Linked DNA regions of Homo sapiens: region 2 is linked to region 1. Evidence: promoter capture Hi-C in human tissues and cell types (Jung and others, 2019). All regions are on one chromosome and are shown on one strand. Each heading gives the region's core, a stretch centred on a gene start or on the middle of the fragment in contact. The rest is flanking DNA. Distances are from core to core; before and after follow the strand shown.

The links. The method cuts DNA at HindIII sites, captures the fragments that hold promoters and counts their contacts. A contact is called where the count stands out against the background at its distance.
Region 2: a fragment that was not itself captured here is called in contact with the fragment with the promoter of SERPINB8 in region 1 in 1 of the 25 tissues and cell types used here (hippocampus).

What each region holds. Positions count from the first base shown.
Region 1 is chr18:63,964,821-63,972,069 of GRCh38, reverse strand. SERPINB8 (serpin family B member 8) reads right to left here and starts at 1,989. Exons shown (of 7, transcript NM_002640.4): 1 at 1,900-1,989. It overlaps LOC105372165 (a long non-coding RNA gene), which reads left to right and starts at 1,566. Exons shown (of 3, transcript XR_935576.3): 1 at 1,566-2,747; 2 at 3,797-4,083; 3 at 5,202-5,705. It also overlaps a transcript of HMSD not described here. RefSeq lists silencers at 1,288-1,507, 1,578-1,637, 1,648-1,847 and enhancers at 1,321-1,615, 1,908-2,077, 2,108-2,157. The HindIII fragment of the contact is 6,523 bases long and covers 1-6,092 here.
Region 2 is chr18:62,853,733-62,860,411 of GRCh38, reverse strand. All of the region lies in intron 3 of PHLPP1 (PH domain and leucine rich repeat protein phosphatase 1), which reads right to left. Among named protein-coding and RNA genes, the nearest start is that of PHLPP1, 140 kb to the right of the region's middle. The HindIII fragment of the contact is 5,182 bases long and covers 1-4,799 here.

The DNA.
Region 1 (7,249 bases), core at 740-3,239:
ATTTTAAATGTTCTTTTGTATTTATTCAATAGGTAATGAAACTTATTAAAACCACATATCAAAAAAAAAAAGAAAAAAGAAAAGCCGGGCAGGCATTCCGTAGGTGGTGAAATGGGGGATGCAAATAATAGGCTGAGGAATTAGCAGGTGCCAAGAATGTGGCAGGAAGACAAAGGGCATGGTTTGTGTGGTGCCCCTGGGGTGGGTTTCTATGGTTTCCTGTGAGCCACGTGGTAGTGAGATAGGACGGACCCTTATGCCACATTTAGGAGTTTGAACTTGAGATTATGGTCTGGAAAGCCATGCATGGTTTTTAAACAAACGTCTCATATGAGTGCATTGGGGCTTTAGAAAGATAACCCGGCTCAGTATTTGGTATGAAAAGAGGCTGGGGAGCTGGCGCGTAGGCCACCACCATGGGCCAGGGACTGCTGAAAGCAGAGGGATTGTCTGCAATAGAGAAGTGGGGGCTGGAATTGCCAGGCAGTGACTGCTCACATAGGGACAGAGCACAGGAGGGCCCAGTCCCGAGGCGCCTAGCTGTTATAAATTCATACTCAGGGTGGGTCGTGAACCACTGGAATTTTAAATGAGGAGTCAGGCTGGAATGGGGAATATGACTTGTTCCATTTGAGATGCGTGGAACACACCATACCAGGTGAACCTGTAACAAAGACAGCCAAGGATGTTTGTAAACAGTTAGGGACGGGGATGAGTAGACTGTCTAGAGCCAGAGACCTGGAGCCATCAGCATCCCGATTCCGAGAGGTTCCATGAGAATGGATGAAACTACACAGAACATCTAGTGGAGGCACAAGGGAAGAAATCCACCTATTTCTGTGGAATTTCCAATATCTGGAGGTAGTAAAAGGAAGAGACAGAGGAGGGCGAGGGGAGAGCGCGCGCGCGAAACGGAGACTGAGACCCAGCCATCAGGGTGTGCTGGGAGAACTGGGGAGACGAGTCTGCCCCTGCGAGTGGACCCAGGGAAGAGGGCGCGGTCTACGCAGAGCCCGAGGCAGGGAAGCGGGAGGGGCCCGGAGAGCAGCCCTGGGTGAGGCCCTTTGGAATGGAGAGGTCTCAGGAGTGAAGCAGCAGCCAGAGGACTGAGAGTGTCTGGAAAGTGAGGAATTGGTTAAAGTAACGCCGGTGGCTGCAACAGAGAGGGGCGTAGGTGAAGAAGCACCCCCAACCCCATCCCATTTGAGAGGAAGCAGACAATGAAGAAGAGAATATGAAAGATACAGAAAGATGAAGGCAGGGGTGGAAAGAACGGAGGGGGGGGACAGGAAGGGAAGGAGAAGGTGCAACCAATAGGCTGTAAGCACAGGGGCAAGCTTGGGCGCCAGGGGAGCAGGGACTCGGCGCCTCCCCGATCTGCCCCAGGCGCCACGGAAATTCCAGGCCCCGCCACCCGCACTCCCGGAGCCTCCTCCGCAGCGGCGGCTCCTCCCACTCGCCCTCCCGGGGCTCCCGCCCAAGCTTCCGGCGCTTCCAAACTCACTGCTCGCGTCACCCCCCGCTCCCATCCGGCAGCAAATCACAGCGCAGCAAATCGCAAGCCTAGAAACAGACGCTCCCTCTCCAGGGGCAGCTTCCTATTCAGGGCGGGTCTGGGCGCACCTGTTCTCGGGACCCGGCCCTCGGCCTTCGCCGGGTCTCGCGGTGGGGCTTGGGACCCCGGCTGGTGCCAGGGCGACCCCCACAGCCCCGCGACTCTCTTTCCCGGCCGCCTCCCGCCGTCATTCTCCTAGTTCCTGCCCGCCTTTGCCTCGCTCTGATTCCTGCTCTGGCCTTCCTCCCTTCCCCTCTCTCACGCACTCCAGGGAAGAGGTGGCCTCCGCGGGAACCTGGGCACCTCCGTGCCTGCCCCGCCCGGTACCTGGCAGAGGCCCCCACCTCCTGCTGCTGCTGCTGCTGCCGCCGCCGCCGCCGCCGCTGCTGCTTTGACTATTCCTCCTTTGTAGATGCTTCACGTCCGCCTTGATTGAGGGCAAGGCTTCCGGCAGATGACTCAGAACCGTTCGATTGCTCTGGCTTGTGCAATCCCTGATTCTTTGGGCCTGTGTGGATGTCTGTGGGCACCGGAGAGAGGGCCAGTGCCTGGTCCTTGGAGGGTGGTTTTTATAAAAAGTGTACACATTGGCTATTGTCCTTTTTTCACCGTTGATTCACGTTTGACTCCACTGTAGTTAGACGTCCACCCAAACATTCTCTGAAATTGCTCCTGATAAGGATACTAATCATTTTCTAATTGCCTTGGCCAAAAAATACATCCCAGGTCTTATTTCATTTTGTTTGTTGGCGACATTTAGCCCTTTCTTCTTTGACCTTCCCAGGATTTCCAGAGCACCCTTCCCTTCTTTCCTGACTCCTTTGCTTGGTATCCTGATTCCTTTCCTACCATTCTAAGCCCTCTTCTTTTCATTATAATATGATCTTCTTGTATGACCTCCACTATATCCATAGGTTCATGTTTCAACTTTTAACTTATTTCTTCAAAATCTCTAACCTGTCTCGAGCCGTAGATGTTACCTGTGTACTACTGGACATCTCTCAGAAACCTGGGTGTGTCCCTCCGCAGTTCTTTTAACTAAATGATCAACAGTCCTGTTACTTCTATCACTTTTGTGTTCCTCCTGTCCATACTCTGTCACCTCTATCATGTCTCATGTCTCTCCTAAACAATTAATTTTCCTACCTACAGTTCTGATCCATGCCAACCTATTGCCTACTCTGAAGTTCAGGTAAACATTCCAATTCTAATTATTTTATACCTCAGTTTAAAATCCTTTATAACATCCTCTTATCCAAAAAGATAAATTAGAAACTATTGAGCAAGGAGTGTAAGCCTCTTCACGTCTTGATTTCTCCCTTCTTTTCTTTAGAGCCATAGCAAATTATTTACATTCCTTCATATCCTCTGTTCATATACATGGGGTTCCTGGCATGCAAGCTTGTCTTTCAAAATTCAGTTCAAATAATGTCTCCTGCAGGAAGCTCTCACAGAGCTCTCCAGTTTGGGAATTCTGCTTTTAAAGATGCACATTCCCACTCTGCACCCCAAACCAATTAAGTAAAGATCTCTTGGAGGAGGGAACCCAGCAGCAGTATTTTGTAAAACTCGCTCAGTGATTTCCCTGTGGAATCCTAAAAGTAACTGTTCCCAAGAACTCTCCTCAATAAGTCTTGGTGCAGGATTCACCCCCATCTTTTCTCCATGACTTTGAAACCCCTCTCTCTAGTGGCTACAGACTCACATTTGAACTGTGCCCAAACTTACCGGCTCTGCCAGTTGAAAATGCCAAGGTCACTTCCCCATTGTGCATCAATTTCTCCTTGTTGGTCAGAACTAGATCCAGACTTTGGGCCCCACTTTGTCCATCCACTCCTTTTCCTCTTTGACCAGCAAAACAGATTAAAAGATGAAAAATGCTTGTTTTCCTCCGTGAAACTTCCAGCAAATGCCTGGTGGTTTGAAGTCCTTTACAAAGGATATAATTTGGCCCCTGGGAGTTTGGTTGTAAACACAGATATCCCATGTAGGAAACACAGTGCGTGCAGGTGCAAAGAGGCACAAGATAGCACCATGAAAACCATGACGTATCCAGGCCTGCAGTGGTACAGATAGTGTGGATGAGGCACTGCAAGACAACGTCTGATGTGTCCACAGGGCCATGTCGTGAAGGCCATGTGGACGCTGTTGGTGGTGTTTCTTCGTTCCCTTGTGGACTATGGGGAAACACAAAAGGATTTTAAGCTGGGGAGAAACATAATCATATTTGTATTTACGAAGGTCCCTCTGGCTGCAACATGGAGTATATTGTAGGAGGGTACCATTGCCTGCAGTGAGGCGTTAAGGACGCAGCATGGATGAGAGATGAGGAAAGCTGAAATGAAACAGAGGCAGGAGAAATGGAGAGGAGGACATGGCCTTGAGGAATTTCCAGGACATAAATTTGGCATCACTTCTTGGACCATGAGAGGAAGAGGGAGCAGGAAGAATCAAAGATGAATCCAAGAATGAACAAATCTAATTTTTGAAATAATGCAATGAAAAGTAGAACTGGTCTGTTTTCCTAGGTAAGGAATTTGTCTGCAAGTCGATATTCACGAGGATTAATTGTATTTATTTTCTGAGTATGGACAATTTAAATGCTGGGCCCTGAAGGGAAACCCATCTCTCAGAATAACTAAAGCCCAATTTCAGAGTGAGCCTGAACAGGCTCCCCACTCCACCCTGGCCCACTGGGGACACAACAGGTAACTGATAAGGTTCCAGAGTATATAATTCAGTGCCTCAGAAACTGTCCTCAGCCTCATCTTCTGTCTTCTTGCCTCATACCTAACTTCACATCTCTTCAGTCAGTACTAGGGAGTATCTGCTGGTTCTCAACTCCCGACTCAACCTTGACCTAGTTTTGTCTGACTCCCTCGGCTCCTGACTTTGTGGACCTCAGGAAGGGCACACTCCTAGGCTAGTCTCAGGTTGAGCTACCACCGTCTCCAAATTAGACTTCCACTTGTCAAGAAGGAAGTAGAGTCCAGGCATAATTGGAGCTTCCTGGGGTGATTCGAGGTCTCTGTACTCCTTGCTGTAAAATGCACAAATACTCCACCTTAAAGAATCTCACGGGGCAGGGCACAGTGGCTCATGCCTGTAATCCCAGCACTTTTGGAGGCCGAGGCGGGCGGATCACCTGAGGTCAGGAGTTCCAGACCAGCCTGGCCAACGTGGTGAAACCCCGTCTCTGCTAAAAATACAAAAATGAGCCAGGCGTGGTGGCAGGTGCCTGTAACCCCAGCTACTAGGGGGCACTGAAGCAGGAGAACTGCTTGAACCTCGGGAGGTTGCAGTGAGTTGAGATTGTGCCACTGCACTCCAGCCTGGGCAACAGAGCGAGACTGTCTCAAACAAACAAACAAAAAACAAAGAGTCTCACCGGAGTTCCAAAATATCCTTCAGTGACTGACCATATACTCTAGCAAAAGTTACTTCATATATGCCCGGCCACAGCTCTCAATCTCCCATGAGATTCCCAGCAATCTTCCCTGGTTTTGAGAAAGTGTAAAAAAACACAAAAAGCAAAAACAAAACACACTTGCTTCAGCTAATTAATGCTAGAGAAACAAACATAGCATCATAAAATGTAAGCATTTGAAAGAACCATATTGTTGACGCTGTTCCTTATATTTTGCAGGAGAGGATGGTGAAATAGAGGTAGTTTGTGTGATTTGCCCAGAGTCCCATGAAGAATTCACAGAAGAATTGAGACTACAGTCAGTATGGCCACATTCCCAGAGAACTGCTTTTTCTGCCATACCCTGTGGTAATAATATTGTCACAAGACAATTGGACAGTGTTTCACATATTCAGTGATGGAAGAAGAGTTTAATTGAAATAAATAAATGTCAGGAAAAATTAATTCGATTGTGATAACACTTAAGGAATGGAGTGTTCACTCTCTAGGAGAAGTTGGGCTAAATGATGAAATGGAGTGTCCGTGTATGTGATCTGTGGTGCTGTTTTGCTGTAGTTAATTCCTATTTTTAACTTGAAATGTGTTCTGACTGCGTTAGTGCCAATTTTTTTGAGACCGGTGTACCTATCCTATCAGGTACATTCGATTTACACAAGTACATTCTCTTTTCAGTTCTCCCACCACTTCTCTTTATTCAAACAATTAAAACCTTCTTGAATATTATTTGGTTAGTCCTTTGAGTTAATGAATCAATTTTACAGGATCTGCTTCTGTCATTTTTCATTAACATTCCCCAGACAAATTTGTACTGCTTACTAACAGCACAATCCTAAATTCAAAAGATTACTGAGTTATAAAGTGGATGTCTGGACAATCCAAAACATAATGGCTGTGGTTTGGGTGTGGATTTTTGTCTCCACGAAAACCCACACTGCGATTCAGTCCCTGCTGTGCCAGTGTTCCACTTAGGGAGAGGTGTCTGCGTCATGTGGGTGGATCCCTTGTGAAAGCCTTGGTCCTGTTCTCCTGGTAGTCAGTGAGGTACAATTAGCTCTCATGGAATGGATTAATTCCTCCAAGAGTGGGTTGTTATAAAGTAAGGTTTCTCCCCATGTTTGGTCCCTCTTCGCATGTGCCTGCATCCCCTTTGACCTTTCCCTCATTGAACCTGCAGGTTCAATGAAGGTTCACTGCAACCTCCGCCTCCTGAGGTTCAATGTCTTTTGACATAGCACAAAAGCCCTCTCCAGAAGCCTGGGGATGCCAGTGCCATACCTCTTGTATATTCTGCAGAATATGAGCCAAATAAGCCTTCTTTCTTTATAAACTACCCAGCCTCAGGTATTCCTATATAGCAACACAAAACAGACTAAGACAATGCTTATATGAAAATGTCTAGATTGTTACCAAGACAAATGTAAGCAATGAAACATACATGTTGTAGAGCCTCTGCTGATCAAGGGTATGGAGAACCCAGTGGACCTTAATGTGAAAAGCATTACATTAATATGCCTGGTATTGTATTTCAAGGAACTTATAAAAGAAAAAAAGGCTCCTGATATGGCATTGCCTGGAAACTGCCATTAGTCCCTCATTAGTGAATCGTCAGTCTCTCCATTAATTTGAAGGGGGTTAAGGGGAAGTATTAAGTGACAAAGAATTTGGAGGGAATTAGAAAGATCTCTTTGGTTTCTAAACGTATCTTTTCGTGCTTTGATTGAATGTGTTGCAGATAGGAAAGTTGAATAGGAGATCCCTGATAGCCTCTCAGATTTTAGCTTATCAATAGAGTTACCATTGATTGTTGAAACAGTGTGAGTTCCTGCCACTTGTTCTAGTGTCCTGTCTGGTTCAGCATTAATCTCAGAATTTTCAGTTTTTAATGGAGTAGTTTTTCTAATAGCTGCACACCCTCAAGCCAGAATGTGTTTGCTAGATCCACACTGTGGACTTCAGTCTCCTGCCACACTCTTTCATAATAGTGGGAGAGATGCTTATTCAGTTACATCAGGCAGTGTTCACTTTGCAAACAAACTACATCAGAGATTTGAAGAGAAGAGAATTAATACAAAGAATTATTAAGTAATAGATTTTTTAAAAATACTGTAATGGCAGCAGATGTAGAAGGTACAAAAGAGAAATTGTCACTTCATGTCTTGGGGTAAGTGGAAAAAAAAAGAACTAAGGACTTAGGAAAAGACATAGGTCATAGACTGTATTATGTCCTCACAAAATTTTTATGTAAAAGCCCTAACCCCTAAGATGAT
Region 2 (6,679 bases), core at 959-3,458, 1.1 Mb after region 1:
TTAATACCATCCACTTATCCTATAACTACTTTCTATGGATAGAAATAAGATAATCCCAATTTGGAACAGATATTCTATGAAAGTAGCACTGTTAGTCCAAATATAAACCAACAGAGTATTCAGTCATGTGCCGCATACCAACCTTTCAGTCAATAACGTACCACACACAGCAGTCCCACAAGATTATAAAGAAGCTGAAAAAGTCCTATCACCTAGTGATATGGCAGCTATCATAATGTCATAGCACAACACACTGCCTTCTATGTTTAGATACACAAATATTTACCATTTTGTTACAACTGCCCACAGTATTCGGTACAGTAACATGCTACACAGGTTTGTAACCTAGGAGCAATAGCCTAGGTGTGTAGTTGGCTAACACCATCTAGGTTTGTGTAAGTACACACTGATGTTTGCACCATGAAGAAACTGCCTAACAACACATTTCTCAAGATACATCCCTGTCATTAAGTGATGCATGTCTGTACTTAGTATTTGAGCCAAGTACTTTATAAAAGCAGGAAAATGTCCCTGCCTGGAGGGTATGTACAGTAACCTAGCATAGGAGACAGGCTGGAAAGAACATAGATTATTCCATCAGGTTTAGTGATATCAGTAATCTCCTCCAATGCAGGAGTTTTATTCCTGAAAACATAAGGAATAATTCTCTCCGACAGAAAGAGAATTCAGAGCTATCGAGTAAATACACGGTCAAGAGACAGATACTAAGATCTAAACTGAACATATAAAAGCCATTGTATATACTGATTTAAAATAGCACAAATAAAGAAAAAGAACAAGACCTTTACACTGACCTTGTACACATCTTCAATTAATGGTACAGTAGAATCAGATTCCATTGCCTGTCTGCTACAAACTTTTCAGGCTGCCTCTCCCAGTTTCAGTGAAATGCTTACAAATTCATTGTGCTTTGCTTCATGTAAGTATTTTATGTAAAACTTATTTTATGTCTAAATATTTATCCAGATGTTCAATGCCTTCCTGGTTAAATGACTCCTCCCACAGCCAGGATCTCAGGGCTAAAGACCAACTTTTATGTGGGAAGCAGAAAACGCACTGACCACCCTGTATTTCTCAAATGCTCTTCCCAATATTGTAGGTAACACAGTGCCAATTTATGCTAAAGCACATGGCTTCAGCCCCACCTCCACACATCTTGGTTTTCTCTCCTCACAGAGGCAATGGGAGTACAGTTCTAAAACTTTGGTTAATTCTCCCTATTTATCTTTACCAAAGCTTTAGGGCAGAAACTTCACTGCTTCTCTGTGATCAGTCTGATCTCTTTTTCTTTTACCAAACCCCAGGTTTCTGTTCCTAATTACACAAGGCAGTAGAACGTAGTCCTTAGGTGTATGGTTCTGAGTTCAGTGTCCAGATTCATAGCCCAGCACCACCACTCAGGAGCTGAGATAACTTGAATAGATCACTGATCTAAGATCCAGTTTTCTCATCTGTATAACACGTATAAAGATGGTACCTACTTCTACATGCCTGGCACAGAAAAAGCACTCAATAAATGTTAACTGCTATTACTATTACTAGTACTACTACTAACACTACCATTTCCAAATCAAATCATTCACATTTTATTTTTTATTAAAAAAAATATTTTTAGATAATAAAGTAGGGGCAAGGTCTTGCCATGTTGCCCAGGATGGTCTCAAACTACTAGGCTAGGTTGATCCTCTCACGTCAGCCTCCCAAAGCGCTGGATTACAGGCATGAGCCACCATACCCAGCTTCATTCACATTTTATATCCACTAAAATTCATACTCTCCTGATGCTAAAAGTATCCAGAAGTAAATCTGCCTAAGATATGTTCTGCTAGATCAGGTATGGTGGCTCACATCTGTAATCCCAGCACTTTGGGAGGCCAAGGCAGGTGGATCATTTGAGGTCAGAAGTTCCAGACCAGCCTGGCCAATATGGTGAAACCCCGACTCTACTAAAAATACAAAAATTAGCTGGGCGTAGTGGTGGGTGCCTGTAATCCCGGCTACTCGGGAGGCTGAGGCAGCAGAATTGCTTGAACCCACGAGGCAGAGGTTGCAGTGAGCTGAGATCGTGCCATTGCAGTCCAGCCTGGGCAACAGAGAGAGGCTGTGTCTCAAAAAAAAAAAAAAAAAAGGTTCTGCTGATGGAATATTTGAGCTTAGGAGAAACTACTGTGCACACATGAAAGCTAAAGGTATACTGGGGTGAGAAAGGCTGGGCAGGACTTATCTCTAAAGACTTTACTGAGAAAGTCTGAGTTTGCATTTTACCAATTTTATCTTTCTGTGAATTTTCACCATTAAATAAGAAAAAGAAACTTCCAAACAGGGCCAAACCACTCATATAAAGAAAGATGTAAAAAGAGATAGAATGTTAATGGGCCTGAAAGTAGGTGCAAAAGCACCACGCTACACAGGATTCCTACGGCATTCATAGGAAGTGGATGGGAACCTGTTTATAGAAAGTGAGTTTGAAACCTCTGCTAGCTAGTGGAATCATTCATTCAAAAATATGTGTTGAGAATCTACTTAATGGTGTGTGGCAGGCCTTTTATTTCCTGAGACACAAAAGGAAAACAAGACAGACACAGTCTCTGCCCTGAATGAGTACACATCAAGAGGAGAGGGTAATTAAGATACTACATGATAACTGTTACAAGAATAGGAAGTGCAAGGACACAGAACAGAATCCCAGGGGTCAGAAAAGGATTCCCAGAGGATGTAATATCCAAGCCCAAACTTGAAGCCTCAGTAGAAATCTGTGTTTTTTGCCCCAAATCCTTTCTCCTTCAAACTCATGATCCTAAGGGGAACTGCAAACAAAGTACCCAGATGCTCTGGATTCGTGGGTAAGCATGCACTCCAGGTCTGAGCAATCTGAGTGTCCTATCTGCTGAAGCCACAGACTGATCCAACAGGTGCTAGCATGGGACCCAAGCTAGGTTAATCAGAGGACTTCTCTGGGATTTACATATTCTGAAACCAGGAAAGAAAGAGAACCAGCTGCTTAGAGCTGCAGTTAAAATGAAGGAACTAGATCCATATGTATCAATCTGACTTGATACAAATGCAAACTGCAGCATGACACATTCCATTTATGAAAACAATTTTTAATACAATACACACACACCTCCATATATTAGATGGATGAATAGTTATATGTGCAATATATACCGTGAGATCATAAATTTCTATTGTTTTAAGCCACCAAGGGTTTGCTAATATGTTACAGCAGCCACAGGAAACTAATGCAACCCTTCTTTATTTTTTCCATTGTACTTTTTTTCATTTTCATTCATTCAACATGTTTACTGAATATCTACTAGAGGTGCCAATTACCGTTCTAGGTGAGCCCTTAATATACTTCAGAAAACAAAATGAAGATCCCTCCCCTATTAAGCTTTCTTTACAAATAAATAAATTATATGTTAAAAAAATTGGTAAGCACTACAGAGAAAAAAAAAACAGCTTGAGAAAGGGGGTCAAGACTGCTGGGAAGGTGGTGGATTGTAATTTAAATAGGTTGGTGAGAGTGGTGCCCACTGAAAAGACCACATTTAGAAAGGAAAAACCGGAGAAGTTGGCAGATAGGATTTATCTGGAAGAAGATGCTGCCAGGCAGAGGAAGTACCCAGAGTTAGGACCCTTAGAGAAGCATGCCTTAGCTAGGCATGGTGGCTCATGCCTGTAATCCCAGCACTTTGGGAGGCTGGGGTGGGAGGACTGTTTGAGCCCAGAAGTTCGAGATCAGCCTGGGCAACATAGTGAGACCACCAACTCTACTAATAAAAAAATTTTTTAATTAGCTGGGCGTGGTGGTGCGTGCCTATAGTTCCAGCTACTCGGGAGGCTGAGGTGGACGGACCACTTGAGCCCAGAAGGTCGAGGTTGCAGTGAGCTTTGATCACACCACTGCACTCCAGCCTGGGCAATACAGCCAGACCCTGTCTCAAATTTGTAAAAGGAGCACACTTGGCATGTCCGAGGGACTTGAGAACACTGATAATAAGGAGACAGTGACTGGCAATGAGGTCAGAAGGTAAGGGGGCAGGGGATATGGGGTAAGCAGCAGATCCTGTGGGACCCTCAGGCCTTGTAAGGACTCTGGCTTTTAAGGTGAGTGAAATGGGATGTGTGGAAAGGTTCTGAGAAGTGTGAGGTGATCACCAACATATGGTCGGCGCTCCATATCCACTGGGGATTAGCTCCTGGACCCCAGCAGGTATCAAAATCCACGGATGCTCAAGTCCCTGACATAAAATGCCATAGTACACTCAGCCCTCCGTGTTGGCAGGTTTTGATCCCCGGTTAGTTGAATCTGAAAATGGGAAACTCGCAGTAAGAAGGGCCTACTGTACCATGGAATTTTCTTATTTTTTCTCTATCTTTGTCTCTAGATTGTAAGCTCCATAAAGGAAAGGATTTTTCTATTTTGTTCACTGATATAACCCCACGTTGAGTACTTGGGAGGACCCTCAAAACATCTTGCTGGAAGAATGGCCAGAAGACGACCTTATACCTCCTCCTTTCTCACCAGGCGGCCTCTGCATCTAGTGCATCCTTTCATTTGGCAACCACTTTGAAGAAGACAAATTCCATTTCAAATGAAGCATCCCACTAAATACTCCCTTTGGACAACTAAGAGAAAATGATTTAACATCAAGTTGTATTGGCTTCCTTTCCTCCTTCTAGACCGTAAGCTGTTTCTGCTGGAAACAAGGAGGAGGAAACCACATTAACGAGGCTACAAGCAAGGGCAGTCCTGTGTGAGCTATGTAGAACTAGGAATGTCTATCGTGAGAACATAAATTCAACATGTTAATATGGCCACTAGGCAGTGAGCTGCATAGGTGACCACAAAAGCTACCACTAGCTACACCACTGCCCAGTCCCATAAGCTGCAACAGAATGGGAGATTTAAGTGCTTCTACTCAGAGCAACCTGGGCACATCAGGGCTCTATCACAAAGAGTTAAGAACCAGGAAAGCACTCTACTTAGAAGGTATGGCTTGATTCCCAAATGAGAAAACTACCAGCTGGGCTATCCAAAGAAACTGTGACCCACCTACACAGCAGCTATTAAAACTGAGATCCTGCCTGAAATAAGAAAGACCTACATACATAAAAAAAATTAATCAAAAAACCACATGTGCACACCTCAGAGCAAGTAGGCTTTATTATTCTAGCGTTTTCCTTTTCCAAGTAACAATAATAATAGTTAACATTTAAGTAGTGCCTTCTTTGTGATAGGCACTCTTCCAAGAGCTTAAGATACAATATTTAGCTTAATCTTCCCAATACCCTGTGCAGTAAGAACTTACCCCTGTTTCAAAGATAAAGATTAAACTGAGTCACAGAGTGTGCGCCCAAGGCCATTTAGTTTAAAAAGCAGCAGGATCAGGCTGGGTGTAGGGGCTCATGCCTGTAATCCCAACACTATGGGAGGCCGAGGTGGGTGGATCATTTGAGGTCAGGAGTTTGAGACCAGCCTGGCCAACATGGTGAAACCCCTTCTCTACTAAAAATACAAAAATTAACCAGGCGTGGTGGTGGGTGCCTGTAATTCCAGTTACTCAGGAGGCTGAGGCAGGAGAATCACTTGAACCTGGGAGGCGGAGATTGCAGTGAACCAAGATTGAGCCATCACACTCCACCCTGGGTGACAAGAGCGAAACTTCATCTCAAAAAAAAAAAAAAAAAAAAGTAGCAGGATCAGAGTTTGAACAAGAGCCAGTACTATTAACTCTATGCCATCAGGTCAAGACCTGGATCTCATCAGAAGGGAGGCTCCTCTAATCTCCATCATAAAATAACATAACTACAGCAAAGAAAATTAGATGTACTCCTCAGGATATGTTTAAGCCTTAGAAATGAAGACAAGGTGGTCAGAGACAGTGAGTCCTCCTCGGGAGAAGCAGTAGAGACCATCTGCTGACCAAATACAGATTTCCGAGGAGGGGTGAATCCCCATGGGGCATTATTCCTTGACATCATAGGCTCTGCCCACTCCAATCCCACACAACTTATCCAGCTGGGCAACAGTGATGCCATCCAGTGAGCACCTAATCAAAATTTTAAAGGTTACAGGAAAAGTATAAGAGGTTATAGATATTTGGGAAGTGAAACAGGCATATATAGAAAGTGCCTCAAATCTCTGTTACAGAAAGCTTCTAAAGGATCTCAGAATATAAATTCCTTTTGGCAAAAGCTACTGTACTTATAACCACAGACAAGATAGTTGAAGGCACAAAGGTGAGGTCCACACAACTTGACATACAGGAGAAAGGGCACCAGCTTAACAGTATGTGGGGTAGGTAGGAACAGTTCTACTTACTAGCAACGTGACTTTGAATAAGTCACTTCGCTTACCTGTCCTTCAAGTTTCCGTATCTCTAAAATAGACTAAGTCCTGTCTTATAGACTAATAGACCTGCCCTGATCACCTTAACAAGTTGCTGCAGTAATACCATTTTATTCATTTTAAAAAATCAGGAGAGGCTCTGTAGACCAAGTATCTCCACAGCAATGTCTACCACTCCAAGCAATAAAAGTCTATAAAACAAAAAAGACTACGATGTAAGCCAATGCTCTCGTCGTTGAGCAGTTATAAGGATAAACTGCAATTAGCCAGACCATCAATGAACTATAGACGAAGAGATTCAAG